Linked DNA regions of Homo sapiens: all the other regions are linked to region 2. Evidence: promoter capture Hi-C in human tissues and cell types (Jung and others, 2019). All regions are on one chromosome and are shown on one strand. Each heading gives the region's core, a stretch centred on a gene start or on the middle of the fragment in contact. The rest is flanking DNA. Distances are from core to core; before and after follow the strand shown. Region 1 has its middle 40 kb from the start of PKDCC. Region 2 holds the start of PKDCC (protein kinase domain containing, cytoplasmic). Region 3 holds the start of LOC105374517 (a long non-coding RNA gene).

What was found. Contacts are between HindIII fragments. The study calls those that stand out against the background at their distance.
Region 1: a contact is called between a fragment that was not itself captured here and the fragment with the promoter of PKDCC in region 2, in 2 of the 25 tissues and cell types used here (heart right ventricle and neural progenitor cells).
Region 3: a fragment that was not itself captured here is called in contact with the fragment with the promoter of PKDCC in region 2 in 2 of the 25 tissues and cell types used here (dorsolateral prefrontal cortex and pancreas).

What each region holds. Positions count from the first base shown.
Region 1 is chr2:42,006,220-42,010,190 of GRCh38, forward strand. No RefSeq gene overlaps it. Among named protein-coding and RNA genes, the nearest start is that of PKDCC, 40 kb to the right of the region's middle. The HindIII fragment of the contact is 7,796 bases long and covers 1-3,971 here.
Region 2 is chr2:42,046,161-42,050,219 of GRCh38, forward strand. PKDCC (protein kinase domain containing, cytoplasmic) reads left to right here and starts at 1,861. Exons shown (of 7, transcript NM_138370.3): 1 at 1,861-2,678. The coding sequence starts at 2,040. RefSeq lists enhancers at 238-741, 742-1,246, 870-989, 2,490-2,749, 3,463-3,964 and silencers at 1,160-1,449, 1,560-1,809, 1,960-2,139, 2,150-2,249, 2,380-2,449. The HindIII fragment of the contact is 20,910 bases long and covers 1-4,059 here.
Region 3 is chr2:41,985,992-41,989,963 of GRCh38, forward strand. It overlaps LOC105374517 (a long non-coding RNA gene), which reads right to left and starts at 2,689. Exons shown (of 3, transcript XR_940000.2): 1 at 1,263-2,689. RefSeq lists an enhancer at 2,148-2,317. The HindIII fragment of the contact is 4,472 bases long and covers 130-3,972 here.

The DNA.
Region 1 (3,971 bases), core at 877-3,376, 40 kb before region 2:
GAGGATGAGCAGTCATATACCCTCATATCCCTGCCAGTACTTGGTGTTATCCAGCTTTCTTATGCCTGCCAGTCTAATAGATGTAAAGTGGTATCTCATTATTGCTTTAATTTGCAACTATCTAATTATTCATGTGTTGGAGCAACTCTTTATATATTTGTTGGCCTTTTAGATTCTCTGGAGTAAGCTAATCAGATTTAAAATGGAAGAGGGAAGAGCTGTCTGTTTAATTAATCTTGATTCCTGGGAAAGTCCAAAGGGTTGGGAGGTTTCCAGGCATAGGAACCAGGGGTGCTCAAGCTTACAAATGGAAAATGTTTCCAGGAGAACCACTGGACCTGAACTGGGAGGTTTTCCTTGGAAATCATCTTTTTGTTTCCCCCAAAATACAAGACAGCATGGAAAACTGGATTTAACCAGTATGACTAGATATAACCAGCCAAAACATACTTCCTGGAAACATAAATAAGTTGAATTACATTAAAAGGAAGAACTTCTGCTCTTTGAAAGACATGATTAAGAGATTGAACAGGCAATCCACAGCGTGGGATGAGATATTTGCAAATATATATGGCAAAGGACTCAGATCCAGAATATATGAAGAACTTCTACAAATTAATAAGAAAAAGACAAACTACTCAATATGGGCAAAAGACTTGAAAAAGCACTTCATAAAAGAGCATCTCTATATGGCAAAAATCATATAAAAATGTGCTCAACTTTTTAAATAATAAGAAATACAAATGAAAACATCAATAAGATGCCACTACACACCCACCAGAATGACTAAAATGAAAAAGACAGACAATACCAAACATTGGCTGGAAAGTAAATTGGCGCATCCTCTTTGGAAAACTACTTGGCAATATCTTTAAAGATGCGCCTGTGCATACCCTTTGACCCAACAGTTCCATCCTAGGAATTCATCCAAAAGAAATGTGTTCGTTAAAATACATGTACAAGAGTTTCATACACTCTAGCCTGGGCGACACAGTGATACTCTGTCTCCTAAAAAAGGAGTGTTCATAGCAGCATTATTCACAATACAAAACTTGAAAGCTACCCAAAGACTCATCAACAATATGGATAAATAATGGTGTTATATTCATGTAATGAAATACTACACAGCAACAAATATAAAAGAACTGCAGTTTTACTTTACACAAAGTACAAAACCAGGTGGAACTAATCTATGGTGAAGTCAAGACAGTGATCACCCTCGAGCAGATATCAACTGGGAAGAAGTGGGAGAAATTTTCAGGGTGCTGGTCCCATGGGTGTGTTCACTTTGTGAAATTTCATCAAGGTGTAGTCTTATGATTTTTTAACTTTTCTGTATATGTTTATACTTCAATGAAACATTCAGAAATATTACGTGGGTACCTACTTTCCAGCCCCAGTCCCATAGTGACAAATCAGGAATAGGAGACAGCCCTGAAGGGAGAGAGAGTAGTTGGCAACGGGCTGCAGAATCATCGCCCACATACAAGAACAAATCCTCACCCTGCCTTGCTTTGCCAGTGGAGTACAAGGGAGTTCACAGCCAATATGTGCTTCGTGAGATTTCAGAGGAGGCAAGATAGCAGTGTCTTAAATGTGGGTAGGGTTTTATTAAGAACCAAGTACTTTGGCTAGGCACGGTGGCTCACACCTCTGATCACAGCACTTTGAGATGCCGAGGCAGGCGGATCACTTGAGATCAGGAGTTTGAGACCAGCCTGGCCAACATGGTGAAGCTCCGTTTCTACTAAAAATACAAAACTGAGCTGGGCGTGGTGGCGGGCGCCTGTAGTCCCAGCTACTCAGGAGGCTGAGGCAGGAGAATCACTTGAACCCGGGAGGCAGAGGTTGCAGTGAGCCAAGATCACGCCACTGTACTCCAGCCTGGGTGACAGAGCAAGACTGCGTCTCAAAAAAAAATTTAAAATAAAATTTAAAAAAAAAACAAGTACTTTCCATGCATACCCCTTTGCAGCAGAGGGAGCAGAGATCTCTAAAGTCAATGTGACTTCCTTAAGTCCACACTGCCAGTAAATACCAGAGCTAGATCTAGTTCCCAGGTCTTCTAGTTTAGGGATCTCCCTCGCATGACACACTGCCAGCTGCATCTGGGCTGAGGCAATCAGGAGGCTCTACAGGGGAGGAACAAGTTACACTGGAGGTTGAAGGATGGAGGCAATGCCCAAGGGCAGACAAAAGCAAATGCTATGGCAAGAAAGTGCCAGGGCCGTGAGCTCACAGCTTCAGTGGGATCTCAGCTTCCTGAAGTGGAGCTGTCAGAGGTGTTGCTAAAAGACAGGCAGGAGTGGCTAGGGAAGTGCAGAAGGGCCCCTCCGGCCATGCTCTCTTGCCCCTTCTCTAGAAGCCCTAGGAGACTCTCCTCCCAACAGCTCCCTGTGCCCCCAGATTTATTTTGCTTTCTTTCGCTAAATCAAACTTTATCAGACAGTTTTACTGTCAGCCATTAAACCAAAATGTGTTTGTGCAACAGTAAACACCTTGTTACTGCAGGGAAGGATTACATAAACAAAGGTGGGGACGAGACCTAACTCACTGTACCCAAGAGCTGTGCGGCCCTCAGTGGGGGATGGAGAAGGGCAAATGGAAGGGCACTTCAGGGGCGTCTGGAGGCCTGAGGCGAGGGGATAGGACACGCTCCAGCCTGAGGCTTCTGCCCTCGCCAGAATGGAATGAATGGCAAGTATTCCTCCAGTCAGAAGGGCACTGTCCTCTAGAGATCTCAGAGGGGGCCCAGGAACCTTGTCAGAGCCCTGAAGGGGGCAGAGGGGGAGGCAGAAAGGCTATTCTGAGGATGGGGTGGTCGGTTTGGATTAGAATGTGGTGTGATGGTGGTGGGTTGGGAGCTAAATAGGTGTGGGAAAAACTTGAAGCCTGGGATGAATCAAGAGAGGAGAGGGTTACGGTCAGATTGAGAAGACATGCAGGTAAGGAAGACCATGGCGGGGGGCTGCCCGCTTGGGCCTGAATTATTGGCCAAGGAGTGGAGAGACAAGGCCCCTTTTTGGGGTCAGTGGGGCAGAGAGGTTTAGACTGGCTTTGGGTGGGTGGCAGATACAGACATTGGGGTGTCAGACTAGAGGCAGGACCAGTGGGCAAAGCAGCCAGATAGACCACCCCTCTGAGTACACCCAAGGTCTCAAGGCCTCCCCTCAGGGCATGTTTTCCTGCCCTTCCTCTGACCTTCTTCCACTCATCCTTGCTCAAAACCCTCTAATCAGGGCTGCTCGCTGAGCCAGGCTGCCACATGACATAAGCTGTCTAGGGACAAGCCTGAAAGACAGGCTCCAAGGGGACCCCAAGTGCTATGCAGAACAGAGGGGACATTCAGAGAGGAGGTGAACAAATAGATTAAATGTGTGCCCCCACTGGGCACTGCGCTAGGAGCTTCTGCACCACAGGTACTTACTTTCTTTTTTTTTTTTTGAAATGGAGTCTTGCTCTGTCGCCCAGGCTGGAGTCCAGTGGCACGATCTCGGCTCATTGCAACCTCTGCCTCCCGGGTTCAAGCAATCCTCCTGCCTCAGACTCCCGAGTAGCTGGGGCTAAAGGCGCCCACCACCACGCCTGACTAATTTTTGTATTTTCAGTAGAGACAGGGTTTTGCAATGTTGGCCAGGCTGGTAATCCATCCACCTCAGCCTCCCAAAGTGCTGAGATTACAGCTGAAAGCCACCGTGCCTGGCCACAAGCACTTTCATTTTCAATCTCACACCCACACTTTGGGATAGAAAGTTCTGCTTAAGCTGGAAAAGTGAAGGCTGCAAAGAGCCATGATCATGCCACTGCATTCCAGCCTAGGTAACAGAGTGAGACCCTGTCAAAAGAAAGAGAGAAAGAGAGAAGAAAGGAAGGAAGGGAGAGAGGGAGAGAAAGAAAAAATTAGCCCCACACACCAGGCTGCCTTTGGCATCAATTGTCTTATATCGCCTACACTGAGCATTTCCTGTATG
Region 2 (4,059 bases), core at 611-3,110:
GACCAAGGCTGAGTGTGAGGGGAATGGTTTGCTGTTTGCTGCTGTTCCCTGTTGACTTTAGCCAGTAGCTCTGTTTACAAACCCAGGTTGGTTTTCCCAGCACAGTTAATTAGACCAAAGACATCTGGTGCAAGGCTGCGGAGAGGGCATCTGCTCAGAGCCTTCCCCCTACACCCTGCAGACTGCAGCCACGGCCCAGAGTGGGGCAGAACAGCTCTATCGGTACAGACCTGACTCCACCAGACCCAGTGTTCTCGGAGGAATCATGGCTTCCTTCACCCTGCCTTTCCATGCTTGCCAAGTCGGACTGGGCCCCAACTCCCCAAGCCATAGAGAACAAGGAGTCCGGGCTGGAAGGCCCACCTCAGTGGGATCATAGGCTGGAGATCAGGGACTCAGCTCTCTCCTCGGTCCTTCCATGTCCAAAGGAACAGGGCAGAAATTCCTGTCCCTTTCTCATCACAGACACTGCATTCTGTAGGAACGCCAGACCTCTTCAGGGAAAATCTCCCCTCCCTGGATACCCCCCCACCCACCCCCACCCCCAGAAAAAAGGCTGTGGACCCTTCTCCTCCCTGACCCCTCCCCAGCCAATCCCTGACACTGTGAGGAGGACAGAGATTAACCTGGCCCAGAGGGAGGCAGGAAGCTGCCCAGGAAGGTGAGAGGATCTAGGTGGGCAGTTTCAGAGTGGCGGGGAAGAGGAGAGCTGCGAGGGGGAGGGGCAGCGGCTTATCTCTCCCAGGAGGGGGGAGCTCACTCCAAACAGCTAGTGCACTGGCGTGTGAAAGCCCCTCAATTAGCACTAATGATGCAATCAGGGAGGGAGGAGGAGGGACCGAAGTTCTGGTGGCGTCAGCACCAACTTACACACAAGGTACACATTCCCTTCATCGGACACAATGGCCCCTTCAGACACGCCGAGGCACACACTCCACAGACAGCCGTCCGTGGGCACAAACGCACTCTTTGCCCAAGCTACTAGCATGCACATGGTTTCTTATACGCGGCTGACCCCGTCAGACCCCAGGCATCTTGAGGGGTAGGGAGCGACCCCCAGCTGCATTTGGGGCTTTAGAGGCAAGGAAAATCAGAAACACTTTGGTAAAAGGAGTTGAACAGGGCATCCTCGGCGAGCTCACGAGCATTCCTCTATGCCTAGAGCTCCTGTCCCACGCGCGCTCGCAGGTGCTGGCCCGGCTGTGCCCGCTTCCCCCTCACCATCGCCCCAATCCGGAATCCGGGGCTGAGCGAGGAGCCGCCACCCCCGGCCCCACCCGCGAGAGACGGGGTCCACGCGCCTTCCCTGCGCCCAAACCGCCCCGAGGCCCCCAGTCCCAGGAGGGAGCGCTGAGATCACTCGGATCTCCGCACCCCGGACTTAGCTGCTCGTCCCCTCCGGAGCCCGCTACCCGCCGGCCTCGCCCCTTTATCTTTCCCCCACTCCGCCCGGCCGGCTCCGTTATCCACCTCCCAATCCCGTTATCCGGCCGCCCCGGCCCCGTTATCCGCCCTCGCGTTGGGCGCGGAGCCCCCGCGCGCCTCCTGGCCGCCGCCGCCCCCTCCCCCGCTCCCAGACGGAGCTCGGGGGACCGCGGGCTGGGCGGGACCGCGGGCTGGGCAGGACCGGAGCCGCCTCCGCGCCGCTTCCCAGGCCCGGACGGCCGCGGGAGGAGGTCCCGCTGTCAGTCAGCGGGGAAGGCCGGGCCGGGCGGCCGGAGGGGGCGGCGCCGAGGACGGGCTCGGGCCGGGAGCTGGGAGGTGGAGGCGGAGGGGCGGGGGAGGGGGCGGGGGAGGGGGCGGGGGCGGGGGCGGGGGGCGGCTCTGGGCCTTATAAGCGGCGGGGGCAGGGCGGCAGGGAGGCAAGTGTCAGGCCGATGTGTCGCCCGCGAGGGGCCGGGGTCGGGGCCGCCGGGGCCATGCGCGCGGGCTGGGCAGGGGGCCGGCGGGGCGCAGAGCGGAGCCGCCTCGGAGCCTGAGCCGCCCGGGGCCGGGGCCGGGGAGCCGCGCGGGGCCGGCCGGCCGGGGGGAGGGGAGCGATGCGGCGCCGGCGGGCGGCAGTGGCCGCGGGTTTCTGCGCCTCCTTCCTGCTGGGCTCCGTCCTCAACGTGCTCTTCGCTCCGGGCTCGGAGCCTCCGAGGCCAGGCCAGTCCCCTGAGCCTTCGCCGGCCCCGGGTCCGGGCCGTCGCGGGGGCCGCGGGGAGCTGGCCCGGCAGATCCGGGCGCGCTACGAGGAGGTGCAGCGCTATTCCCGCGGGGGCCCCGGGCCCGGGGCGGGCCGGCCGGAGCGGCGGCGCCTGATGGACCTGGCTCCGGGCGGGCCCGGCCTGCCGCGCCCCCGGCCCCCTTGGGCCCGGCCCCTGTCCGACGGCGCCCCAGGCTGGCCCCCGGCTCCCGGCCCAGGCTCCCCCGGCCCGGGCCCGCGCCTGGGCTGCGCCGCGCTTCGCAACGTGTCCGGCGCGCAGTACATGGGCTCAGGCTACACCAAGGCCGTGTACCGGGTCCGCCTGCCCGGCGGTGCCGCGGTGGCGCTCAAGGCGGTGGACTTTAGCGGCCACGATCTGGGCAGCTGCGTGCGCGAGTTCGGGGTACGGAGGGGCTGCTATCGGCTGGCGGCCCACAAGCTGCTTAAGGAGATGGTGCTGCTGGAGCGGCTGCGGCACCCCAACGTGCTGCAGGTACGAGGGTGGGGACGCGGGGGTAACGGTGTTGGCTGGGAGTGCCCAAGACCTTGTCAACCTGGCTGGAAGAGAACCCCTTGATCTGGAGTGCCAGTGACTGCACCCAGGCTAAGCTAGACGCAGAAACCGGACCATGGCCCTTCCCACTGCACCACCCTGCTTCTCACTCCTGGGTGGGCGTCCCTTTACCGGAGAACTCCTGGGTTTCTCGGCTTCCACACATCTCTTAAAGACAGGCCAGGACAGAGGCTCCCAAAACTCAGGGGGTGGGGCAGTCCATTAGGATTTAGGACTCTACTCCGGGCTGGAGTTAGGAGGTTGAACACCAGGGATATTACCCCAAGCCAAAATGACCCTAAGCCAAGACACTTGAGTCAGAATTCCAACTGTGTGATAAAGTCCCCCTTCTTGATGGAACTTCTCCCAACTTCCAGTGATTTGTCTGGTTTTGAAAATGAGACGGGACAGCAGTGGGGCTGGGAAGAGCTGGAAAGAGACCATGTGTCAGGCTTGATTCCTATAGAGTCTCCCCACCCACCCACCTCCAGCGCCACCCAGAAGACACTGGAAGGGGGCTGGGGAGCAGGCTAGAAAAAGGGAACACAGTCCTTCCCAGAAGTGAACTAAGGGTTCCCCAGGCCTTAAAGTGGGTCCTTGAGCCCCTGGAGAAGCCTGAAGGTCTCAGCTCAGTGGACAGACTGGCGGCCTGAGGATCTAAATGTCACACTGTCTGAGTGTATATAGATAGCCAAGAGGCTGGAAGGTTGAGAAGGCCAAATGCTCAGGTTCCTACTCAACGGGACTCTGCCTCGCCTGTTCACTGGAGACACAGGCGAGAGCTGAAACCCCCACCTTGTCCCCTCCAAGCTAGACTTTGAGTGGGCCTCTCACAGTCCCAGCACCGCCCTAACACTCCACGTCCTCTCTCTCAGGTCTCCCCCCATCCTAAGATTAGACAGACTATTCCCTTTGCACATGTCTGAGCAAACAGAGGGGAATCCCTGACCGCTGTTGGCCCGGTGAACATGGGTGTGTGCAGCCTCCCCAACGGATGAAATCTTGCACACACCTTCCACCTACCAGCCCACTCAAACTAACCTTTCTGCACCCAGCAGAAATGACTGGAAACCCAGGAGTCCCTCTCTCCTTTCCTTAGGAGTGAGATGGCACCCCAGCCCTGGAGGGAGATGGGTGGGCGTCGTAGAGCAGGAGAGACTGGCCCAAAAGTTGTTTATACTCCTGTTGGCTCCCAGTCTCCCCCTCCCCCATCGTATTCCCCAACCCTGGTCAGACACTTGTGACCGGGCCCTGGGCCCCAAACTGGTCTCAGGAGCTCGGGCAGAACCAACACTTGCGTGTAGTGAAGCCTGGCTGCACA
Region 3 (3,972 bases), core at 1,116-3,615, 60 kb before region 2:
CCAGAGTCAGCCACATGTCCCTCACGTCAAGCCTCATTTCTGGCTACTTCTCCTCACTCTACTCCAGCCACATGGGCCCCAAAGCATCGAGCAACTTCCAGCCTTTAGGACCATCATACCAGCTCTTCCCTCAGCCCAGAATGCTCTCCTACCCCTTTCCCCAGTCCTATATCCAACTAAATCCTTCAAGTCTCAGCTCAACTATTACTGCCTTACGGAAACCTAATTTGACTCCCCATTAATGTTTCTCTTGGCACTTTTTACTTTGGCAGCACTGATGACTTATACCTTTTAAAGAATATATTTATTTGTATTATTGTTTAATGCCAGAGCCCCTGAGGGCAAGGTTGAATATGTTTTGCTCATGACTGTATCCCTTGTGATGATATCAAAAACTTGTATCAGTTAGAAAGAAAGAAAGAGAGAGAGAGAAAGAGAGAAAGAAAAAATAATGAAGTTCCAGTTATCTACCACTGCACAACAAACCATCTCAACATTTTACAACTTGAAACAGTAACCATTGTATTTTATCCCCCAACTTTGTGGGCTGGTAATTTGTGAAGGGATCAGCTAGGCAATTCATGTCTTCTATGGTCTCCATGAAGGTCATTCGATGGCATCAGATGGTAAATGGTCTAGTTTGGAGGGTCGAAGCTGGCTTTGCTTACATTTCTGGTGCCTTGATGGCTGGGGGGCCAGACTCATTTAGAACTACTGATGTGAATGGCTTCTCCAGTATGTTGCTATAAATAGGTTAGTCAAACTTTCTACGAGGTGGCTCAGAGGGAGGATCCCAAGAGACCCGGGTGGAAGCTTCAAAGTCATGTATGACCTACCTTGAAAGTTCCAGACATTGACTTCCACTGCGTGCTACTGGCCAAGCGAGTCAGTAAGGCGATCCCGGATCAAGGGAGGGAATTAGAACCCAACTCCCATGTGTAGAATGTCGAAGATGTTGCAGGCATCATCTCTAAGCCACCACAATGGGGCGGGGGACAGGGGAATGACATTTATCCTTTCACAGTGGTCATCCTGACTATAGTGCCCAGAAAGAAAGAAAAAGGATGGAATATGCCTAGGGAGATCAATTCAGAACATAATAGAAATAAAAATACAAAAAAAGAGGGTTTAAATGGTATCTACTGGAAGAGAAAAGGAGGCATGAATTTGAGAGATATTTTAGGAAGCAGTAGAAAGGAACAGTAAGAGCATGGACTATGGAGCCACATCATCTAGCTTTGAATCCTTGTTCTGCCACATACCAATGGTGAGAGCTCTGGAAAACTAGTTGTTTTCTCTGGTCCTCAGTTTCCTCATCTGTAAAATAGGTATAATAATTGTACTTATTTCACAGGGTTGTTGAACAGATTATATGAATTAATACATGGGGGAAAAGAGCCTAAAACAGTTTCTAGGTATACTAAGGGTACAATAAATATTAGCTCTTAAAGGAAAATAAATAAATAAAACTTACTAGGAGTCAAGTTTCGTCAGAAAGCCAAGGCATGGCTAGGGGAAATAGGAAAGGTTCCCTCTATCTATGTGTTCTGTTTGTCAGTGATGTTGAGGAGGCATTTTAAGCTTCCAACTTTGCAGCTGTAATGTACTTTGGAGTGTTGCATACTCCCACACCACCTAGATATGGTTACTTGCTAGGTTTACTGAATTCAATACTAGTGAAAAAACGGGAGCAAATAAAAATGCATAGAGATGTTTGAAGTATGGAGGAGCTGAAGATGCTCTATAAAAAGACCTAAGTCCTAATAAAATACATGTAACTGCATTAGCCTGAGGGCCTGGTCTTTCCTGCTCTTCCATCTTTTAACTGACATTGACCTTGCATCCACTCTCTTCCAGTCCCTGTGCCAGGTTCTGGGGATACGGTATGAACAAGACACTGTCCCTACATTTAATCCATAAACAAAGACATGCAATGCAGTGTCACAAGGGCTGGATCTGGGAGATGAGGGGACCCTGTAGATGCATGTGAGGGGACATTCCAGGCTGATGAGTGGCATCCACAAAGCTATGGAGGCATCTGGGGTTGGTGCTTAGGGTAGCATCGGTGTGACTAGAGTGTGGGGAACAGTGGGCTTGGCAAGAGCAGAAGCCCAAGGGGCAGCATTCAGGCCATGGCGATGTCTGCAGTGGTAGGCAATGGGCTGCGGGCATGTGGGCTCTTTATCTGGGTCTGCCTGCTGTCCTTCTGCAGAAATAGCCCATAAAGGCACTGAGATGCTGCCTGTCTAGCCCTTCACAGAGACAGAGGACCGGAATCAGTTTATTGCCATTCTCAGCTACTTCTTCAAAGTGCTTGAAGAGAGCAAACTGGTCATCCGGGCACCAGGTACAAGGACAGGAGGAGTTTGTGTCTGGCCATTAACGCTCACGGGGACCCAGCAGGCCCACTGTGTGCCTCAGATCCTGAGACTAAGTCCTTTAGTCTTACCCTAACTTCCTGGCAGTGGAGGAGGATAGACAAACATCTGAACCCTCTGCTGCCTTCACCCGCCTGCCTGCCTCTGTGGGAGCCAGAAGAGATGAACCCCAAGGATGGGTCTTGCCAAGCTTCCCACGAGTTAATACGTGGCACCTAAACCCCAAACCCCAGAGGGAAAACAGCATGCCCTTGCCTCATTCAGCCTAAAACTGCATGGCAGGACCAAGGGTTTGGCTCCATGAGAATGTACATTGAGGAGTGGTGTGTTAGTCCTTTCTCATGCTGCTATAAAGAACTGCCCGAGACTGGGTAATTTATAAAGGAAAGAGGCTTAATTGACTCACAGTTCCACAGGGCTAGGGAGGCCTCAGGAAACTTACAATCATGGGGGAAGGGGAAGCAAACACCTCCTTGTTCACATGGTAGCAGGAAGGAGAATGCCAAGCAAAATGGGGGAAAGCACCTTATAAAATCATCGGATCTTGTGAGAACTCACTATCCCGAGAACAGCATGAGGGTAACAGCTTCCATGATTAAATTACCCCCCACCAGATCCCTCCCACAAGACTTGGGGATTATGGGAACTACAGTTCAAGGTGAGATTTAGGTGGGGACACAGCCAAACCCTATCAGGTGGCAAAATCCCCAGATGGAGTTTCCCCACCAATGAGCATCCAACAGTCCAGCAAAGCACCTGATCCAGCCCTAATGCTGACCCCAACAGCAACCACACACTGACCCCAGCCTTGCATGGAACCCTAATCCAACCTAACCCTAACCTTACCGGACCCTTACCCACTGTGCTTTAATACCATAGCAATCTGAATCCAAGTCCCCAGCCTCCCTAACCCGATGCTCACCCTGAATAAAATAACTAAAATAACTTCAACACCAACATCCACTCCAATAAATCCTAGATTGCCTCTCAGCCCTAATTTTAGCTCCGATTCCAACTTCACCCCAGGTCAAAGGAAACACAGAAAGGAATGGTCTCTGGGGAGAGAAGTGCTGCTGCCCCACAGTCTGGTGGTCTTGACCGACAGCTGTCTGCCATATGTAGCTTGAAATGTACCTGGAACAATTGTCCTTTGGGTTTAAAATCTGATAGAAGACTACTGCCATTATGAAAGGATTTAATACACAGAAATCTCTTTGGAAAGAACCAGACCTTAGAAGTTCATAGTTGAGAAATAGAGGCATTTGAGTTATTTCCTCTGTGAATAGTAGACAGGGATGGAAGTTCTTAAGAAACTCTTCTCCTCCAACCCCTGATCTGCAGGAGTCATCAGGAAATGGGATTATCTTCAATTTATAAATGATGAATAATTGCCAGTTCTAAGCAGAGAGAGGAAGGGGGTACTGTGTCACAGACAGGAGAATACAAAGGGAGAAGCTAGATTTTTAAAAGAGACACCAGCATGTTTAATTCTTACTGTTCAGCCTCCTCCTGAGCCTGGAAGGCTGGTGCTGGGTGCCCAGCCTGTGGCCCGTAGGGTAAATGAGGGCTCCTGAGCCTGGCTCAGAGCGTGAGG